Linked DNA regions of Homo sapiens: region 2 is linked to region 1. The links are contacts of gene promoters, found by promoter capture Hi-C in human tissues and cell types (Jung and others, 2019). All regions are on one chromosome and are shown on one strand. The core of a region is centred on a gene start or on the middle of the fragment in contact, and the rest is flanking DNA. Distances in the headings are between cores, read along the strand shown.

The links. The method cuts DNA at HindIII sites, captures the fragments that hold promoters and counts their contacts. A contact is called where the count stands out against the background at its distance.
Region 2: the fragment with the promoter of RPS15 here is called in contact with the fragment with the promoter of BSG in region 1 in 2 of the 25 tissues and cell types used here (dorsolateral prefrontal cortex and lymphoblastoid cells).

What each region holds. Positions count from the first base shown.
Region 1 is chr19:569,183-574,172 of GRCh38, forward strand. BSG (basigin (Ok blood group)) reads left to right here and starts at 3,414. Exons shown (of 9, transcript NM_001728.4): 1 at 3,414-3,519. The coding sequence starts at 3,453. It overlaps BSG-AS1 (BSG antisense RNA 1), which reads right to left and starts at 3,066. Exons shown (of 3, transcript NR_184018.1): 1 at 2,927-3,066; 2 at 2,258-2,414. RefSeq lists enhancers at 1,662-2,234, 2,315-2,364 and silencers at 3,185-3,404, 3,575-3,754. The HindIII fragment of the contact is 13,063 bases long and covers 1-4,990 here.
Region 2 is chr19:1,434,704-1,439,645 of GRCh38, forward strand. It overlaps RPS15 (ribosomal protein S15), which reads left to right and starts at 3,693. Exons shown (of 4, transcript NM_001018.5): 1 at 3,693-3,725; 2 at 4,104-4,189. The coding sequence starts at 3,723. It overlaps DAZAP1 (DAZ associated protein 1), which reads left to right. Exons shown (of 12, transcript NM_018959.4): 12 at 34-981. The coding sequence ends at 209. RefSeq lists enhancers at 1-61, 3,438-4,308, 3,717-3,936. The HindIII fragment of the contact is 20,902 bases long and covers 1-4,942 here.

The DNA of each region.
Region 1 (4,990 bases), core at 2,164-4,663:
TTAGTAGAGATGGGGTTTCACCGTGTTAGCCAGGATGGTCTGGATCTCCTGACCTCATGATCCGCCCACCTCAGCCTCCCAAAGTGCTGGGATTACAGGCGTGAGCCGGCAGCTGCATATTTTCTTATCTGTTTATTAAGTCTGTTTAAGAATTCCACGGGCCTGGCCAGGCGCGGTGGCTCACGCCTGTAATCCCAGCACTTTGGGAGGCCGACGTGGGCAGATCACAAGGTCAGGAGATCGAGACCATCTTGGCCAACATGGTGAAACCCTGTCTCCACTAAAATACAAAAAATTAGCCAGGCGTGGTGGCGGGCGCCTGTAATCCCAGCTACTTGGGAGGCTGAGGCAGGAGAATCGCTTGAACCCGGGAGGCGGAGGTTGGAGTGAGCTGAGATCGCGCCACTGAACTCCAGCCTGGGCGACAGAGCGAGACTCTGTCTCCAAAAAAAACCCCATGGGCCCTTCATGTTTCCTCTGTTGTACGTTAAATGCTCGGGAAGTATTTTGGGTTTGCAGATCTGATTCCCGAATCCTTGTAATTATCCCATCTCCGAGATCGCTCATGTTTTTTAGGTCACATTGTCATCCCACCCAGGATCTTGGGCCAGGAATTTACGCTCCGCTGAAAGGACGTTCTGACCGGGGGGTGTTCACGCTCCCAGACTAACACAGCGGCCTGTGAATCATGGTTCTCTCTCTCCTGAGACGAGAGTACTGAGGGTAGACATTAATTCAGCCCAAGCGTACAGCTGTGGCCCCAGAAATTGGTCAATTTGATCCGCGAATCCAAAAGGGTCATCTAACAGTGGTTTGAGTTCTTTTAGATTTCTAACCTCTGAACTGGTTAAAGGGGGCATTTACGAAGTCAATATCCCTTCCTCCCGGTGGTCCTTCCCTAAAGGGGAAAAGGGCTGAGGCAGGTCTTTTTGAGCAGGAGGCAAAAGGAAAGTTCTGTGGGTTTTTGTTTGTTTGTTTGTTTTTTGAGACGGAGTCTCGCTCTTGTTGCCGAGGCTGGAGTGCGGTGGCGCGATCTCGGCTCACTGCAAGCTCCACCTCCCGGGTTCAAGACATTCCCTGCCTCAGCCTCCCGAGTAGCTGAGTAGCTGGAATTACAGGCGCCCGCCACCACGTCCGGCTAATTTTCGTATTTTTAGTAGAGGCGAGGTTTCATCATCGTGGCCAGGCTGCCAGTCCTGAACTCCTGGCCTCGTGATCCACCCGCCTCTGCCTCCCAAAGTGCTGGAATTACAGGCGTGAGCCACCGCGCCCGGCCGAAAGTTTCGAATATCCCTTTGGCATTGTTCTGTTTCCCGTTGGAGCTTTCCTGAGGAAGGGGCATGTTCTAGTGGCTGTCCAGCGGGGATGTGGGTGGCAAGGTCCAGGTGGTTCTATAGGGGAGGGATGGAGGGGCGGAGGAGCGGGTGGGGGAGGGGCGGAGGGGCGAGGGGTGGGTGGGAGGGGCGGAGGGGCGGGTTGGGGAGGGGCGGAGGGGTGGGGTGGGTGGGTGGGGGGGGCGGAGGGGTGGGTTGGGAGGGGCGGAGGGGGTGGGTTGGGAGGGGCGGAGGGGGTGGGTTGGGAGGGGCGGAGGGGGTGGGTTGGGAGGGGCGGAGGGGGTGGGTTGGGAGGGGCGGAGGGGTGAGTGGGGGAAGGTGGTCTAGAGGATCCCACCCTTCTTTAGATATGGGGCGTCTCTGCTAAAAATACAAAAATTAGCCGGGCGTGGTGGTGCGCGCCTGTAATCCCAGCTACTCAGGAGGCTGAGGCAGGAGAATCGCTTGAACCCGGGAGGCGGAGGTTGCAGAGAGTCGAGATCGCGCCGCTGCACTCCAGCCTGGGTGACACAGCGAGACTCCAACACACACACACACAAAAGATATGGCGCGTCTCATTCATTCACAAGTTCCTCTTCAAAGGTTTGGCTCGTTCAGCGCCCTCGTTCTTCGTTTCCTACTTCCAAGGCCAACCTGACTTCCTCACCCTCTGGGCCTCCCCGTCTGAGTCTCAGTAAACAAGTTTCCCGCCGGTCCTGATCTGCAGAGATGGCACCTGCCACCCACTCTGCACATCCCCCTCCCGTCGCCACGGGCTCTTCCCGCCAGTGTAGCCACATTCCTGCCCCTTTCCAGTTAGCCCTTCGCGTTCGGCTTAGTCTGCGGTCCTCTTGCATTGCGACTCCGAGTTTAACTTCCAACACACACTTTCAACCTCCAAGAGACGCCCCCACCTGTGTCGCCCCAATAGCGACTTTTCTCACCGTGGTCGCCGCGGAACTTCAAGGGTCCTTCCTACCCGCGTTGCTGAGAGTCTGGGTTTACGCGTCACCTCGGGCGGGACCCGATCCTCCGCTCCTGAGGCCCCCACAATGAAGCAGTCGGACGCGTCTCCCCAAGAAAGGTAACCGCCAGCCTCTCCTGAAACAGAATGGGATCCAAATGGGATATTTGGGGGCGGCGAGTCGGTCCCGCAAAGAGAAACCAGCACTTAGAAAATTTCTCAGCGAGACCACTTTACTTGTACGGAAGGGGGCTGCCTGCGTGGGATGCAATCTCCAGAGCACACGGGACAAAGGAAGGGAGCTTCTGTTCCTCTGTCCTTTCCCTGTTGGCTGGGGTTGGACGCCCACAATCTAAGCTGATCCCGGTTGGCTAAAACTTAAAACTTTTTTAAAATAGGGTAAACGCGCCACCTGCGAGGAAAGAAGAAGGGGGTAAGGTTGATTGACAACTTTAGACCTGGAAGTTGAGTTTCTGAAGAGGAACTTACTTGTCCCAACCAAATGGTGCACAGGACGTTTATACTAAGAAATTATTCATTTTCTGAGATCCAGATTCAAGTGCCCTTTAAGTATTTTTATTTGGGCGGAGGAGGTCACTTCCTCCCACCTAATTTATTAATACGTTCATATATATATATATATATGTACATTTTTAAAGGCAGAGATGTGCGTCTCGCCATGTTGCCGCGTCTGGTCTCGAGCTCCCGGGCTCAAGCGATCTTCCCGCCTCGACCTCCCAAGGCTCTGGGAGTACAGACGTGAGCCACAGCGGCCGGCCCGTGTTTAACTCAGATAAAATCTGGGTAACACACTTTCAACGCTTCAACCCCCTCGGGCGCACCGCTCTGCGCTCATTGCAACTTTGAAAGCAGGAAGGAAGAAATGCGCAGGCTCCAGCCGCGTCCCCGCAGGCCCCACTCCCGTTTCCTAGCAACGCCGGGTCACGTGCGCCGCCGCCCGGATTCCGTAGCGTGAGCCTGCCGGAGCCGGCGCGTACATGCGAGCGTGTGCGCGCGTGCGCAGGCGGGGCGACCGGCGTCCCCGGCGCTCGCCCCGCCCCCGAGATGACGCCGTGCGTGCGCGCGCCCGGTCCGCGCCTCCGCCGCTTTTTATAGCGGCCGCGGGCGGCGGCGGCAGCGGTTGGAGGTTGTAGGACCGGCGAGGAATAGGAATCATGGCGGCTGCGCTGTTCGTGCTGCTGGGATTCGCGCTGCTGGGCACCCACGGAGCCTCCGGGGCTGGTGAGGAGCGGGTAGGGGGCGGGGGTGCGGTCCTGCAGGGGCCGGGAATGGAGGCCGCGGTGCCGACCCGAAGCCGACGGGAGCCTGGGGCCTCGGCGCGGGGCGGCCTGGGGTGCGAAAGGCCGGCCCCGGGGGCTTCCCGCGCCAGCATGGAGCTTGGGGGTGAAGTCCCAGGGTTTGAGGGGGGACTAGAGGTTCCTCCCGGCGCGGCCTGCCGGGCTCCCCCGGGCGCTCCGGCCTCGAGCCCGGCCTCTGTGTGTGGGCGTGAAGCTCCCTGCTTGGAGGCGGGAGCCAGGGGGTCCTGGCCAGGCCGGTCTTGGTCAGGGGAGGTGGGCGTCTTGCTTTTCGGTCACCTGGGGTTGGGGGTGACCTGCTTCCTGGGTGAGGGCGTCTGCGAAGGCGGTTGGAGGTGGCCCGCCCGCCGGTCCCATCGGCCAGGAGAAGGGAGACCCAAAGCCTGGGTGAGCGTCCCCTTTGGCCTGGAGCCAGGGGTCAGGGGCTGGTTGGTGCCTGCCCAACCCGTCCTGCTGGGGCTGGACTCCGCAGGACCTGGGGAAAGCGGCCTGGGCGTGGAATCTGGAGACGGGTCCACCCTGCCTGCGAGTGTTAGGGTCAGAGACCCTCCCCTGAGACTCTCTGGGGCCCCCGCAAGGGCCCGTGCGGCCTGGAGCGATCATCTTGGCGCTCCCTTCTGGAAAAGGGGCTTTTGTCCTCCAAGAGCACATGGAGGCTCTGAGTGGGTCAGCCCTCCGGATCGGGAAGGGATTACCGTTCTTCACGGGATTTAGCCCTGGCGTCTTGCCTAGGGCGTGCACCTGCCCCCGGGTGTTCTCCCAGACTCTTAAGACCTCGCAGGCTCCCTCGAGGGGCCCTGCGTGGAAGGGAAGGCGGAATCTCCCTCTGATTCTGCCTGGATTCAGCACCCAGAATGAGGTGGTCTCTGAACGCCCCTCCTCCTTTACAGGCGAGGAAACAGCCCTGTGGGAAGTCGAGGTTCCAAGGTCACAGTGAGGGGGCCCTGGCCACCCGATTCAGCGCAGGAAATAGTGAGAAAGTCGTTTTTAGCCGACTCTGACCCGCATTCGGTTTCCAGTGCTGTCTTAGGAGGGCCGTGTGTTGAGGGTGGGCAAACGTGGTTTGGAGAGCGCATTTGGGAAATGGATTGAGGTGTGTTTTTCCGGGAGAAAAGCATGACATCCTTTCTTGCTTCATAGAAAATTTCTTCCTTTGTTGAGACCCCCATTTGGTTCTGGGTTAAAGATTTATAGTGAGGCCGGGCGTGGTGGCTCACACCTGTAATCCCAGCACTTTGGGAGGCTGAGGCGGGTGGATCACCTGAGGTCAGGAGTTCAAGACCAGCCTGGCCAACATGGTGAAACCCCATCTCTACTAAAAATACAAAAATTAGCTGGGCGTGTTGGCGCACGCCTGTAATCCCAGCCACTCAGGAAGCTGAGGCAAGAGAATCGCT
Region 2 (4,942 bases), core at 2,443-4,942, 870 kb after region 1:
ACCGCCCCGAGCTCACAGGACTTTCTCCCCCAGCAGGTTACGGGCAGGACTTGAGTGGCTTCGGACAGGGCTTCTCAGACCCCAGCCAGCAGCCTCCTTCCTACGGGGGTCCCTCCGTGCCAGGGTCGGGGGGCCCCCCCGCCGGCGGCAGCGGCTTTGGACGAGGGCAGAACCACAACGTGCAAGGGTTCCACCCCTACCGACGCTAGCCCGCGGCGCCGCGACGTCTGCACGGCCCAGACCCAGGATTCCAAACTTGTGAACTCGTGACAATCACAAACTTGGCGGCAAAGTGGCGACTCAACCTTGGGGGGGGGGGCGGGGGGAGGGCGCGAGGCTTTTGGAGCGGCTGTGGGTGTCGTCTGGACTGAGGTTTTTAAATATTTCTTTCTCTAACCCATCAGCACAATAAAAAAAAGTCACTGGTTCAACAACAGGGTTTAAAAAAAATGTCTTCAGCTTTAATTCAAAACTTCAGGTTTCTTTTTCTTCCTTTTTTTTGGAAATTATTTTCCTGAGCCTTTTGTTTTACGGTATATTGTAAACTTTTATGTTAAAGAAAAAATATACATTTACAAATTGTGAGATTTTTAAGAGAAATTTTCTACGATGTATACTGGCTTATTTTTTAATTTAAAACGGGGTTTCCGTCGGCACTGGTGGAGGGGGTGCGCTGTTAGTCCCCTCGCTCCTGGCTTTGGGGGTTGGGACTTGGTGGTCCAGAAACTCTGGGAGCTTCTAGAAGAAATCTACTGAGTGTATTTCTGTTTTTTGTTTAATTCCTTGCTTTTGTCGACTGACCTGCTTGGTAGTGTCTGAGGTGAACTGTGGGGGTTGCGCACAGCCAGCCGCGTGGATCCCACGCAGCGCTGAACCGAACCGAGTAGGAAGCCTTTCTCCCCAGGCACGTGGCTTCAGGGCGTTTCCCATTGACCAGTTTGACCCTGGTTTGAATAAAGAGAAGTGCGTTTGGATTAGAAACCACTTTGTGTCCGTTTTTTCCCTCCTTGGTCTTGGCCTGTGCCTACCCTTCCAGTGCCTAGGAAAGGTCTGAAACGCGACGGAGGCGCCCTCGCCCTCCCCTTGGCTCTTGGTGGTCTCAGCAACCCCGAGGGCTTCAGGGCAGAGGCTGAGTGGCGAGCTGGGCCCATCCCTCAGTGGGTCTTGGGATGCTGTGACTTTGAGGATGTGGCCACCACCAGTTTTCTCGGGGAATGTGGGCTCCAGGCTTTTCCCATCTCAAGACCTTTAATCATATCTTTTGCCATGGAAGGTGACATATCCCCAGGTTCTGGGGATTAGGACAGGGGCATCTTTGGAAAGGGATACTCTGTCACTGTGGCAGGGAAGGCGAGACTTAAAAAGGGCCGGGCGCGGTGGCTCACGACTGTAATCCCAGCACTTTGGGAGGCCGAGGCGGGCGGATCACCTGAGGTCGGGAGTTCGAGACCAGCCTGACCAACATGGAGAAACCCCGTCTCTACTAAAAATACAAAAATTAACCGGGTGTGGTGGTGCATGCCTGTAATCCCAGCTACTTGGGAGGCTGAGGCAGAAGAATCGCTTGAACCTGGGAGGCGGAGCTTGCAGTGAGCCGAGATTGCGCCATTGCACTCCAGCCTGGGCAACAAGAGCGAAACTCCGTCTCAAAAAACAAAACAAGAAAAAAAAAGGACCATGAAGTCCCAAACTGGAAGCCTACAGCGTGCCAGGCGTGAGACTGTTCAGGCGACAGCCAGAACCACCCCCCCCCGCCCCAGTTCATATTTTGGGGACAGGGAAGGTTTGACTTAGTTTGGAGAGAACCAAGAGAAGGGGTACCCCCAACATCCCTGTGCAGTGCAGTTTCCTCACTGAGACAGTACCCCTCAACGCCTCAGCCCAGGAAGCCAGCTCCATTCCCTGCCGTCAGAGCCTTCTCCCATGTCCTCAGGAGCTGCTGCCCCAGCTCCCAGGAGGGCCAGGCGGGGGCGGCTGTCTATCCACACCACAGGTCATCATGGTGTTGAGTGTCAGCCCCTCCCGTTACATTAGCTCCCCCAGCCAAAGAGCAGCACTCACAAAATCAGCTTTCCAGCCAGGACACTCTGCTGCAGGAAAATGGGTAACATGGACGGGCCCGACACATAGGTCCTGTGCTCCTCGGGACGGAGACTCAGCCCTCCCTGAGTACAGTGTAATTGGCTTCCCTTGGGACTGTGGGGACGGCTGGGGAGAGCTCAGCTCCCTGGACAGTGCCACAGCTAAGCTCGGGTTCCCAGAGGTTTTGTGCTTTTTTTTTTTCTTTTTCTTTTTTTTTTTTTTTTTTTTTTTTGAGAAGGAGTCTCTGTCGCCCAGGCTGGAGTGCAGTGGTGCGATCTCAGCTCACTGCAACCTCCGCCTCCCGGGTTCAAGCGGTTCTCCTGCCTCAGCCTCCCAAGGAGCTGGGATTACAGGCACCCACCACCACGCCTGGCTAATTTTTTGTATTTTTAGTAGAGTTAGGGTTGGTCAGCTTGGTCTTGAACTCTTGACCTCAGGTGATCCGCCCGCCTCGGCCTCCCAAAGTGCTGGAATTACAAGCATAAGCCACCACGCCCAGCCAGGTGCCACATCCATAGTTAATAGTCACCTTCAACTTTATACTTAATTCCAGTAAGATACAGAAACATCACTCCTAGGCCAGGCGCGGTGGCTCACGCCTGTAATCCCAGCACTTTGGGAGGCCAAAGCGGGTGGATCACCTGAGGTCAGGAGTTCGAGACCAACATGGCCTGGCCAACATGGAGAAACCGTGTCTTTACTAAAAATACAAAATTAGCCGGGCACGGTAACAGGTGCCTGTAATCCCAGCTACTTGGGAGGCTGAGGCAGGAGAATCGCTTGAACCCAGGAGGCAGAGGTTGCAGTGAGCCGAGATCACACCACTGCACTCCAGCCAGGGCAACAAGAGTGAAACTCTGTCTCAAAAAAAAAAAAAAGTCACTCCTACATAGTTCTAGTTACTCCTTCTCTTTGAGCTATCATTATTCACATTACATTTACATATCTTAACAAACCCAGTGATATTCCTAACTTTATTTTTGAGGCAGGGTCTTGCTCTGTCGCCCAGGCTGGAGTGCCGTTGGCGCGATCACGGCTCACTGCAGCCTTGACCTCCTGGGCTGAAGGCTCAGCCTCCCGAGTAGCTGGGAATTTTTTGTACTTTTTATTCTTTTATGTCCGTGTGTACACAAATTTTTGTATTTTTTTGTAGAGAGGCAGTCTCACTGTGTTGTCCTTACTAACTTTATATACAAAATTTTATCTGTTAAAGCCGGAATGGTTCTTTTCAGCGAGGCCCTGTCCCTGCTCCAGTATCTGTAATGAATTCTCGTGTTCCTCCCACAGTGGGACCTGAACCGCCAAACCGCACCTACGAGCAAACGGTAGGCGCTCCATAAATACTTGTTGATGTGGGTGCCATCGTGTAGATGACGGAGCACGAACCCGAGGCTCAGACAGGGGCGGCGACTTGTCCAAAGTCCCACTCCGTGGAGGAAGCGGCTCTGCAGACCTCAGGCGGCGGCTGCTCTAATCCCTGCAGCCTGTGTTTTGCCCTCCAGACGGCAGAGGGCGCGTGTTCGCCGCCGGGAAAGCGGAAGCGCGTGTGCGCGCACGGCCGAGGGGGCGGGACATGCCGGCAGTCTCGCGATAACTGCGCAGGCGCGGACCAAAGCGATCTCTTCTGAGGATCCGGCAAGATGGTGAGTGTTGCGATTTGGCGCGTCTCTGCCGGGCCTATCCGGCTCCATCCAACCTCTGACCGTCTCGCGGGGGCCGCAGTTCGTCCCCGCGGCTACGGCGGCTTGCTCCCGACCCTGCAGGCGGCTGGATGTTGGGGCGAGGGGCGGACTTGGTGGGTGTCGGGACGACGCGGGGCTGGGAAGGCCTGTCCGGGCCTTCATGTCCGGGTCCTCGTAACCCGGAGCCGCGAGTGATCCCCGGGGACGGGTCGAAGCGGTGTGTCCCTGTCGGGCTTCTGTCCCCGGCGGCGCCGCGCGTCTTCCGCGGTGTCCTCGGGCCCGGTGGCCCCGGGAGATGGGTGTCGGGATCCCGCTGACGCCCGATCCGCGCCCGCACAGGCAGAAGTAGAGCAGAAGAAGAAGCGGACCTTCCGCAAGTTCACCTACCGCGGCGTGGACCTCGACCAGCTGCTGGACATGTCCTAGTAAGGGCGGCCGCGGGGGTCGCGGGCAGGGGCTGGGCCAGCGGTGGGGCTTGTCCGGGTGAGGGCGGCGGGGCGGGGGTCCAAGCGCCTCTGCGGCGGTGGGCGGGCACGGTCTCCGCGCGGGTTTGGAACTGAGTGTGGTCTTGCGCCCAGAAAACTGTCCAGAGACGTTGAGGTTTTTGCTTATTTGCAACCTGCCCCCCGTTGTTCACTTTTCCGCGGCTTAGTTGGAAGGTGTAGCCCCTGTCTGTAGCCCACGTGACTTAGAATAAGGGGCTGCGTTAGACTCCTTAGATTTTAAGGGCGGTGGAGGTCGCTGGGTCCTTTCCAGGCAGGGTGGTGGTGGGCATCTGGCTTGCGCTTTTATTTTTTAATTTTTGATTATTTTGAGGCGGAGTCTCATCCTGTCGCCCAGGCTGGAGTGCAATGGCTCCGTCCCAGCTCACTGCAGCCTCCCACTCCCGGGTTCAAGCGATTCTCTTGCCTCAGCCTCTCGAGTAGCTGGGATTAGAGGGCCCCCCCACCACGTCCGGCTAATTTTTGTATTTTTAGTAGAGACGAGTTTCAGTGTTGCCCAGGCTGGTCTCAAACTCCTGACCTCAGGTGATCCACCTGCCTCGGCCTCCCAAAGTGCTGGGATTACAGGCGTGAACACCGCGCCCGACCTTGATTTTTGATTATTTGTGGAAACAGCGTTTCTCTGTGTCGTCCAGGTTGGTCTTGAACTCCTGGGCTCAAGCGACCCTCCCGCCT